3 separate regions of the Homo sapiens genome follow, and regions 2 and 3 are each linked to region 1. Evidence: promoter capture Hi-C in 16 types of primary human blood cells and fetal thymus (Javierre and others, 2016). All regions are on one chromosome and are shown on one strand. The core of a region is centred on a gene start or on the middle of the fragment in contact, and the rest is flanking DNA. Distances in the headings are between cores, read along the strand shown.

Evidence for each region. Contacts are between HindIII fragments. The CHiCAGO score rates a contact against its expected background, and 5 or more counts as called.
Region 2: a contact is called between a fragment that was not itself captured here and the fragment with the promoter of HAS2 in region 1, in 3 of 17 cell types (non-activated CD4 T cells, activated CD4 T cells and naive CD8 T cells). The highest score is 7.0, in non-activated CD4 T cells.
Region 3: a fragment that was not itself captured here is called in contact with the fragment with the promoter of HAS2 in region 1 in 2 of 17 cell types (non-activated CD4 T cells and total CD8 T cells); the score reaches 6.3 in non-activated CD4 T cells.

Annotation. Positions count from the first base shown.
Region 1 is chr8:121,639,960-121,643,003 of GRCh38, forward strand. It overlaps HAS2 (hyaluronan synthase 2), which reads right to left and starts at 1,481. Exons shown (of 4, transcript NM_005328.3): 1 at 894-1,481. It also overlaps HAS2-AS1. RefSeq lists an enhancer at 2,140-2,763. The HindIII fragment of the contact is 9,649 bases long and covers 1-3,044 here.
Region 2 is chr8:121,837,177-121,840,220 of GRCh38, forward strand. No RefSeq gene overlaps it. Among named protein-coding and RNA genes, the nearest start is that of LINC02855, 140 kb to the left of the region's middle. The HindIII fragment of the contact is 2,765 bases long and covers 28-2,792 here.
Region 3 is chr8:121,820,931-121,823,974 of GRCh38, forward strand. No RefSeq gene overlaps it. Among named protein-coding and RNA genes, the nearest start is that of LINC02855, 120 kb to the left of the region's middle. RefSeq lists an enhancer at 2,226-2,952. The HindIII fragment of the contact is 1,420 bases long and covers 728-2,147 here.

The DNA of each region.
Region 1 (3,044 bases), core at 231-2,730:
AGCTGAGGAGAGAAGCGCCGGCGTGCGCGGTGCCACGTCGGAATTGGCTCTGGGGACGCCGCAGCTGCCGAAGCGCAGCGCGCGGTCCCCACGCACGCCCTGCCTCCGGGCGGCCGGCGGGCTGGCCCGGCGAGGAGAGGAGGGATGCGCGCCCTCCTCCCGCTCCTATCTGCGGGTGCCACCGCCTGCGTCAGGGACCCCTGGCCCGAGTAAGCCCAGACTGACGAGCCTGACACTTTAATGGGGTGCGGGAAGTGCAAAGGAGGGGAGGCCCGGGAAAGGGGGGAGTGGCCGAGAGGGGATGGTAGCTGCGAGGAGGTAGAGAAGGACCCTCCTTCTCCAGGGTCCCAGCTTGTCGGAGCTGGAAGCCCAGATTGCTTAACCCTTTGCATTCCCAGCAAGAAGCGACTTTTTCACTTAGAAGTAAAACGCGCTGGGCTATTCCAGTTTTTCTCCCCACAGTGTGTGTGTGTGTGTGTGTGTGTGGGAAAAAAAGAAGGGAAGGGGTGGGGCGGCTGTGCAGAATGCATTTTCCTTACATTGGGAATTCTTGTTTCCTAACTCTGGAGCCCCTCTGCTGCTCCGGAAGATGCAAAATGGAAAAGTACATCTGAGGACGTGCAGCCTTTCCCAGGCAGAGAGGCTACCTGTGTCCCCAGAAAGGCAGCGGATTTCTGGCGAGAGCCGCAGAAATGGGAAAAGAGGGCTATGTTGCTAAGCCTGACAGTGACCTGAAATATTCCCTGATCTTCAGTCTGTTGGAAATTTTTAAACTTCCAACTTTTCTATCGAAACTGGCTTAAAAATTTTAAAACAATTATAAGGATGTCTTCCTTCTCCCTGGCCTGTTGGAGGACCTTCATCCTTCACCAAAACGCGCCAGTGTAACGTACCTTGTTCAGCTCTTGGTCATAAAGTCGTCCTCAGCCTGTCTGTGTGGTCCCGGAGGGTCGGTGGCGGGCAGTTTCCAAAATTGAGGTAATAAGAGATCAGATGAATTTGAGACGACCGGCCAAAAAAAATAAGAAATTTAAAAACAACATTTAAAAAGGATAGGGGAGTCTTAAATGTTTGATTCTTCCCCACTTTAAAAAATAATTTCACTAATATTCTCTTTATGTTTCCGTTGCACTTCAGTCTAATTCTTAAAAAAATTATGCTTTAAAAATAAATTAACTTTTCTTTTTTCTTTTCTTTTCTTTTTTTTTTTTTTTTTTTTTTGGGCTTCAGTCTTTCTGCCCCCGATAACAGAAAATCTCTTTTTCGTCTTAAAAAAAAAAAAAAAAAAAAAAAAAGCCTGTGGAAGACTCAGCAGAACCCAGGAAGCGCAGAATTGGGAGAAAAGTCTTTGGCTGGGGCTGTTTCAAGTCTCTGGTTCAATGGGCTGCTCGAAGCCAGGACTGGGTAATTCTTTCCAGACGTCTTGACTTCTCCTTCCCCGCCGTTGTTGCCCTTCTGCCTCCTCCAACTTAAGGGGGTCTTAACAAGTGAGCTGGTGGGTGTTTTAATAGGGCGGCGGAGGGAGTGGGGGGGTGAGGGAAGTGGAGAGGGAGGTGTGGACTGGGGAACCCTGAGGGGAGGGAACTGGGAGCGCGGGCGGGCGGGCGAGCGGGAGGCGGGGAGGGGGAGAGGGAGAGAGAGAAATTGGCCATTCAAAGCCTTCTCTGAGCTACAGGCCGGTTCTAAACTCCAATGAATTCAATTAACTTGATTGCTAACGTGTGCAGAGAAATGCAAGACACATAGGGGGCCACCACCTGATTCCTTACTTTCCTCTGGCGGCGGAGGTGGGAGCCCTCGCCTCTTGGATTTCCCTGAACTCCCGCGTTACAAGTTCCCTCCAAGCGATAAACTCCCTGTGGCGCTGAAGTAATTTGTTTTAAAGCCAAATGGTGCCCTTCAGCTAAGTAACCGACCCAAGGAGGAACAGTTGGGAGGGGTGTGTGCACGTGTGTGTGTGTGTGTGTAAGTGTGTGCGTGTGTGTGTGTACCTGGAGCCTTCGACAGCCGGCTGGGACTCTAAAAAGATCGCGCTGGTCCACCACTTGTTAACCCTTTCTTCCCGCCAACTCAAAAGTTTCTGAGCTGACGTCAAGTGTCAAAGCCTTTCTCATAAAGAGGTTTCTGCCGTGGGTGGGCGGAAAACATAGAAAAGTAATTATATGTATATTTTTGCTCAATCTGGTCCCCTAACGTAAACATACTCAAACAGCGCGCATTAAAAATAAAATAATAAAAATTGTTTTCTGGAGGACTTATATTTAGCCATCTTGAAGGAAATGGCTTAACTGGCTTTTGCTTTTTGCAAGCCTTCTGCAAAGTTGACGAGGACAAATATGTCTTGCTTGGAGATGGCCTTTCCTCGTCGTTTTCACAATGCCCCAAGGCTGGGTAGAGTTCGTTTTTTGGTTACTCCTCCCCCCACCACTCCGCCTCCTTTCTTTCTCTTGGACCTTGCCAACAAGCCTGCTGATGACTGAAAATGGACAGTAGGTGGCACTGTTGAGGAAAAAATGAGAGTGACTTTACAAATTAACCAACTTGGTCTTGGGAGATTGCGCTGAAATTGTTATAGGGTAAAACAGATTTTTCTTTCTTTCTTTTTTCCTTCTTCCCCTTCCAAGGATCTTCTGAGGGGTGGACTTCTTTGGAACTCGACAGGACCTTGAAGACTGGGTTCTTAGTCCTTATCACATATATGGGCTATAATGAATAAGTCTAAACAGAAAAGTCGAATAAACTGGAAATGATGCTTTCATCACGTCGCACAAGGTGTAGTGTTGGGGGATGTGATTAGGGGTCAAGCATTTTAGTGCAATACCAGGTAGTCAGCCATCCCAGTCCCCAGGGGCTGACCTGCAAAGTACTGCGCGTTTCCGCCCCCTTCCCCCCGCCCCCCCCCGCCACGCCACACACACACACAGCGGTTACACCTCTGGGAAGCATTACCTTGGCCTGATGACTTCACGCTGCTCAGGGGACCCCACTGATTTCCCCCAGCAAACCTTCCTGCTTCAGCCTTTGTTTGAACTCCGCCTTAGGTG
Region 2 (3,044 bases), core at 160-2,659, 200 kb after region 1:
AGTAAAACTTCTGTAGGAAAGGAGGAAAGCTTCCTCTTGATCAGATTTTTTTTTTGGCCTTTTTTTTTTTCTCTCTAATAACAATGTTTATATCTCATAGATCTGCACTGGCTTTCTTGGAAAACTCATTTTATGTTCTTGCCTTATATTTAGGTGAAGTTATATCCTGTAACCCCCCAAAAGTCAACCTTTCATGCTCATAGGGTTGTTATGAAAACTAATTAGTATTAGCTGGGCGCGGTGGCCCATGCCTGTAATCCCAGCACTTTGGGAGGCTGAGGTGGGTGGATCATGAGGTCAGTCATTCAAGACCAGCCTGGCCAACATAGTGAAACCCCCTCTCTACTAAAAATACAAAAAATTATCTGGGTGTGGTGGCGGGTGCCTGTAATCCCAGCTACTCGGGAGGCTGAGGCAGGAGAATTGCTTGAACCTGGGAGGTGGAGGTTGCAGTGAGCTGAGATCACACCACTGCACTCCAGCCCAGGCAACAGTGCGAGACTCCATCTCAAACAAACAAACAAACAAACAAAACTAAACAGTGTAAATGATGATTTTCTTGTATGTAGTTGATTAAACATTTAGTTAAACAACAAAAGAAGATTTGTTAGGGCCCCAGTGGTCTTCAGAATCAAACAATTTTGGTTTGAATCCAGTATTCACCATTCACCAGTTGTTGGCTTTAGGCAAGGTAATCAACCTGTTTATTGCTCATTTTCTTCATCATAAAATTAGAATAAAAAACAGAGACTTAATATTATTGCCTTGAGGATATATGTATATTTCCTAATACAGTTCCAGTCGTATAGTAGGCTCTCAATAAATAGCAACTGCTTTAAAAATATATACTTATGAGAGTCTTCATAGCTATACCTCTGCCAGCCATTAATGGGAGCAGGATTTGGGCTCTCCCATTTATGGGAGTTTTATGCTGTATACACTAGAGCAGTGTTGACATAATTTAGGCTTAGTAAATGTTTGGTGAACCAGAAGATGAATAGAGGCCTCATGTAACTCCCAGCCATGTCTTCAAATCTTAACATTTAAATCATATCAGCCCTCTGTGACTTTGTGTAATGATAGTCTGGGGACATGCAATGGCCCAGTGCAAATAAAAATTGAAACATTTTCAACATTTTCTCCTATTAGCAATGTTTTTACAAAGAAATTTTCTAGTCTTAAATAAGCACTTACATAAGAAGTGGTGAGAATAAAGTAAATCAGCATATACTTTGATGAAAATGGAATTGCCAGAGCTGTTATCTAAATTAAGTTGGAAATGTGAGTGATGATGTGAGTGTTATGAGTGGATTCACACAATTTTTGTTTTTGGACCTCTAAATGATGTCATCAGCCTTTCCTCCTTGTGCTTTCTGCCATCTTCAGTGATTCTGTAATGCCACATAGTTGGATACTGAAGTATCAACTTAACTCATTTCAAATCACAGATTCAGTGTCCTCTGCTCACATAGAAATGGAACCACCCTCCTTGCCATTTACAATAACTCCTGACCATCCAGCTATGAGGTGCCCATGATTGTACTGACAGTTCCCAAAGTTCAACCACCCATGTTCTCATCATATATAGATAATACATATCTGTCTTCCATATTGAAGTTTTCATAGCTTTTCATATCGATTCTCTCATACAGTCCTTATAACCAATCTGTGGAGGTGGCTGAAAAAGTATGACATCATTATTTTAGAGATAAAGAAACTGAAGTTAATCTAGGTGTTACCATTTTAGAGAGAGAAACTTGGTGGTCTCAGTAAAACTTGGCCCTAGTTTCACCTTTGAAATGAATTCATTGTTATGGGCATTCATGCTGTTTAGGTCTAAATCTACTCCTCTGTTACATGCCAAATGGATTTCTTGGTTTGTTTCCAACAATAACATCCAATGTTTCCTAACTATTCCAAATACAATTCAGATAAAAATGTTATGGTGGCAGTAGTAGAATCTAAGTCTTCTGAGCCCTACTCAAGTCATTTTTCTAGAGAGCTGCCAATGGCCAACATGAAGACAGAGTCCTGGGCATGTCCTTTATGCCAGAGGTTTCCAGATATGGATGCTTAGCAGATTTACCTATTTTTGTTAAAAATACAAACTCTGGAGTTCATTCTCAATGATTCTGATTGTGTAGGTCTGGTTTTTAAGCCTATGTTGAAACCTGATGATTTAGGACATGAAAAAGACTCCTAAATGTATTGGTTTCATGGCCTTTCCTTGAAGTGGTGCCAATACAGTAACCTGGCTGTCATTTGACTCTGATGTAGACCAAGTCAATGGCCTTAAAAGGATCTACTGGGGATATTAAGGTGCATTCTTCAAGTTCCATTTTTTTTTCTAGGAAATCTGATATCCAACTCACAATTTTCTCCCATTTTAAGGCGGGGTCTTGGGGATGGACAAAATAGGGTGAATGAGCATGCTATTCTGGATCCCAGAGCCATCTCTGGAGAGAGAAATCATACTGAATCAAATCACCTTCCCCACAAATATCTTTCAGAAGGAATAAATTAATATGGTTAGTTGCTACCAAACAATTGACTTTCAGACAATGACCTTTACCTTCTCACTTCTCTCACTGAGATAAAGTGAAGGGCAGCCCCATGGCTCCTGCTGTTAAGTGGAACCTAAGTGGAAGAGAAGAGGGACCAATGTTTCTGAGCTGATAATCACCTAGAAAAGGTACTTAACAGAGTCCAGAAGGGATTTCAGTTGAGGTTTTGGCTAATGTCAAAAATATTCTGTTTCAAGATTTCTCCAGGTTGTACAAAGTAGCATATAAAGCTTGAAAAAATAAAGGTAAGCTAAAGAAATCATAGTATAACATGTATGTATTTTTTCTTCTTGTAAATAATATACTAATTTTTTTTCTGATTTTTTTTTCATAAAATAAGCTAATAGAAAAGACCAAAATAGCACAGGTCTTGGAGTAACCATCTGTCTTGGCCACACATGGAAAAAAATGAACAACCTGCATTGATAGTGACCTTTTGCTCAGACCATGTGCCTGAGGAGGTGACACTGAACAGTAGAA
Region 3 (3,044 bases), core at 188-2,687, 180 kb after region 1:
GCATTCCTGTTACCCCTTATTTTTGCCATTCAGATGCAAACTCCAAGCATCAGTGGACATGAGCCTATGGATCACCCTAATTTGAGAATCACATTGGCCTAAACCATAACCCCGAGTATCTGCCTAATTTTCCTCCACTCATTTTCTGGCTTTGTCTCTTTGTTTAGAGGAAAACCATGCTCTAAATACTAGCTGTTCTCTGGATTCTTAGCATCCAGATTTAATTTTGCCTCCTTAATCCACGATTTAAAAAAGGAATTAGATGCATAGAACTCCAAACTTAATATGTATGGTAGATAGAATAATGTCTATCCACCAAACAAACACAAAAATATGTCTATGCCTCAGTCTCTAGAAACTGTCAGTATCTTACATTACATGGCAAAGGGGAATTTGCAGATGTAATTAAGGTTATGAACCTTAACAGAGGGAGGTTATCCTGGCTTATCCAAGTGGCCCAATCTAATCATATGAACTTTAAGAGCAGAGAAATTTCTCTGAGTCAGAAAGGCAGCAGAAGACAAAGGCAAAAGAGATGTAACAGAAGAGGAAGCTGGAGAGATTTTAAGTGTGAGACGGATTAGAGGCACCGTTGCTGGCTGTGAGATGCCCACCTACAAGGACTGAGGATAAACCTCTAGGAGATAAGATGCTCTCCAGCTAACAGCACACATGGAAATGATGAGTTTAACCCTACAACTGCAAGGAACTGGATTCTGCCTGAATAAGCTTAGAAGCAGATTCTTCCCAGATCTCCCCTGTACTGAGAAGGATTAATTGATTAGGATCTCACTAATAGGGGTTGGGCAGACTGACACCTTGATTTTAGTCTTGTGAAACCTAGAAGAGAGAAACCATAGAACAAATCTGGATTTATGATCTAAAGAACTGTGAAATAAATTTGTATTGTTTTAAGCACAAATCAGTGGATTGTTTAAAATAGCAGCAGTAGGAAACTAATACAGTATGTTTCCAGACAAGGAAGGAAAGTATGAATTAGAAGGAGAGGAAATCATGGCAACTAAAAGAATTGATAGATTTAAAAATGGGAGAGTTTTCTACTGATGCTTAGTATGGTTCTGATTTTAGTCCAGTGTTGCTATAAAAAAATGAGTAATTGTCCATTAACTGGACAACATTCGGCATAAAATCTTTCTTTCTTAAAGGGCTCAAGTCAGTATCTGCATTATAGGCATAGTCTGTGGTGAGATAAAGAAATAGTGAAAAGAGGTAAGAAATGAAAAATATAAAAGCAGGCACATGAGTCCTCTTCAATCCTGCTACCATATGTCTAGTCCTAGAGTAAGAAATAGATCTTTTATGATTTGAAGACAAGTCTCTGTTTTTGGAAACCTCACTTTTATGTCAAAGCCCTCAGATCTGTTGGAAAAAATTAAAAATAAGAATGGCTATATATTCCAGAGAAATAAAGCCATTGACAGACTTTTAAAATTCTTTATTGTTTTGGATCCAAAAAAAGGGACCTCTATGATATATTATGTATCGTTACAATATGGTGCATGGCTTCATCATCTGTACTGAGAAAGATTAATTGAATAGGGTCACACTAATTTACAAGCAATTGTACTATGGGATGAACATGAAACAGGGCTGCCAAGAAAAGTTTTGTCACTTGCACTAGACATTTTTATCTGCAAAGGATGTTTATATCCACCTTGGGTTATTTCCAAGATTTTACTTTGGGTATCACTTTTGGATCTAGGCCTTCACTTAGAGAACTCCTTCCTCCTTAAAAAAGCAAGTGAAGTTCTTGCAACATAGATAAGAAAATCACCAGTGCTACTTCATGTGTTTTTAATGATGCCCTAAAATCACCAGGCAACCACCAACCCGGGACCCGGAAATGAAGAAAGTACGCTATGTCTCAGAGAAATATAAATTTCTAGGAAATAACAACCGAAATGTGTTCATATCTTGAAACTCAGGAAACCTCAGCTACTGAGTTCCAAAGATTTCTCAGATATGTAAATAATACCAAAGGAGATGGGAAATTCCAGTTGTCTTTTATAGTATTCTTGATTTGATGGGGATTTCCTCAAGAGGTTATGACTGTCAAGGAGTGCAGACAGACTTTTTTCTTCTAAGACTGATGACAGCTCCTTTTCCTCACAGACAAAACGTCGAGAAGCTTCTCAAGTTATGACCAATGTTGACAAAAAGAGTCAAATCTGTAACATATTTTTAGAAATTTATTCTGAGCCAGATATGAGTGCCAAGGTGGTCGGGGTACAGCTTGATTTTATATATTTCAGGGAGGCATGAGATGTCAATCAAATACATTTAAGAAATAGGGGAGCAGGGGCTTCCAGGTTATAGGTAAATTTAAACATTTTCTGGTTAGCAGTTGGTTGAGTTTGTCTAAAGACCTGGGATGACAGAAAGGAAATGTTCAGGTTAAGATAAATGATTGTGGAGACCAAGGTTCTTTTGAAGTCTTATAGTGGCTGCCCTTGGAGACAATAGATGACAAATATTTCCTATTCAGATCTTTGAAAGGTGCTAGACTTTTAGTTAATCTCTTCAGGATAGGGCGGGCCTGGAAGAAAAAGATCTAGCTATGTTAATAGAGATTCTTTACAGATGCAGATTGTCCCCCACAAAGGATGGCTTTGCAGGCCCATTTCAAGATGTGGCAGAGAAAAATGTTTTGGGGTAAAATATTCTGATTTTCTTCCTTGTTATGCCAGAGTCAGATTGGAAAGTAAGTCCCAATATACAGGGTTAAATAAAACCCATCAGATGAGAATTTATGGTTTGTAGGGCATGACTCTCCAAACCCCTTAGATAGGAATTTGGCCAAGATATAAAAAATCAGAGCTTAGTCCTCACCAAGTATCGAATGCTTTGGAAACGTCTGTTCCCTATCATTCGCTTCCTCTTTGGAGCACATTTTACCCACCATTCCCTTCATTCCAATTGATTTTATATATATATATATATATATATATATATATATATATATATATATATATGTATTTTTTTTTTTTTTTTTTTTTTTTTGGGACGGAGTCTTGCTCAGCTAC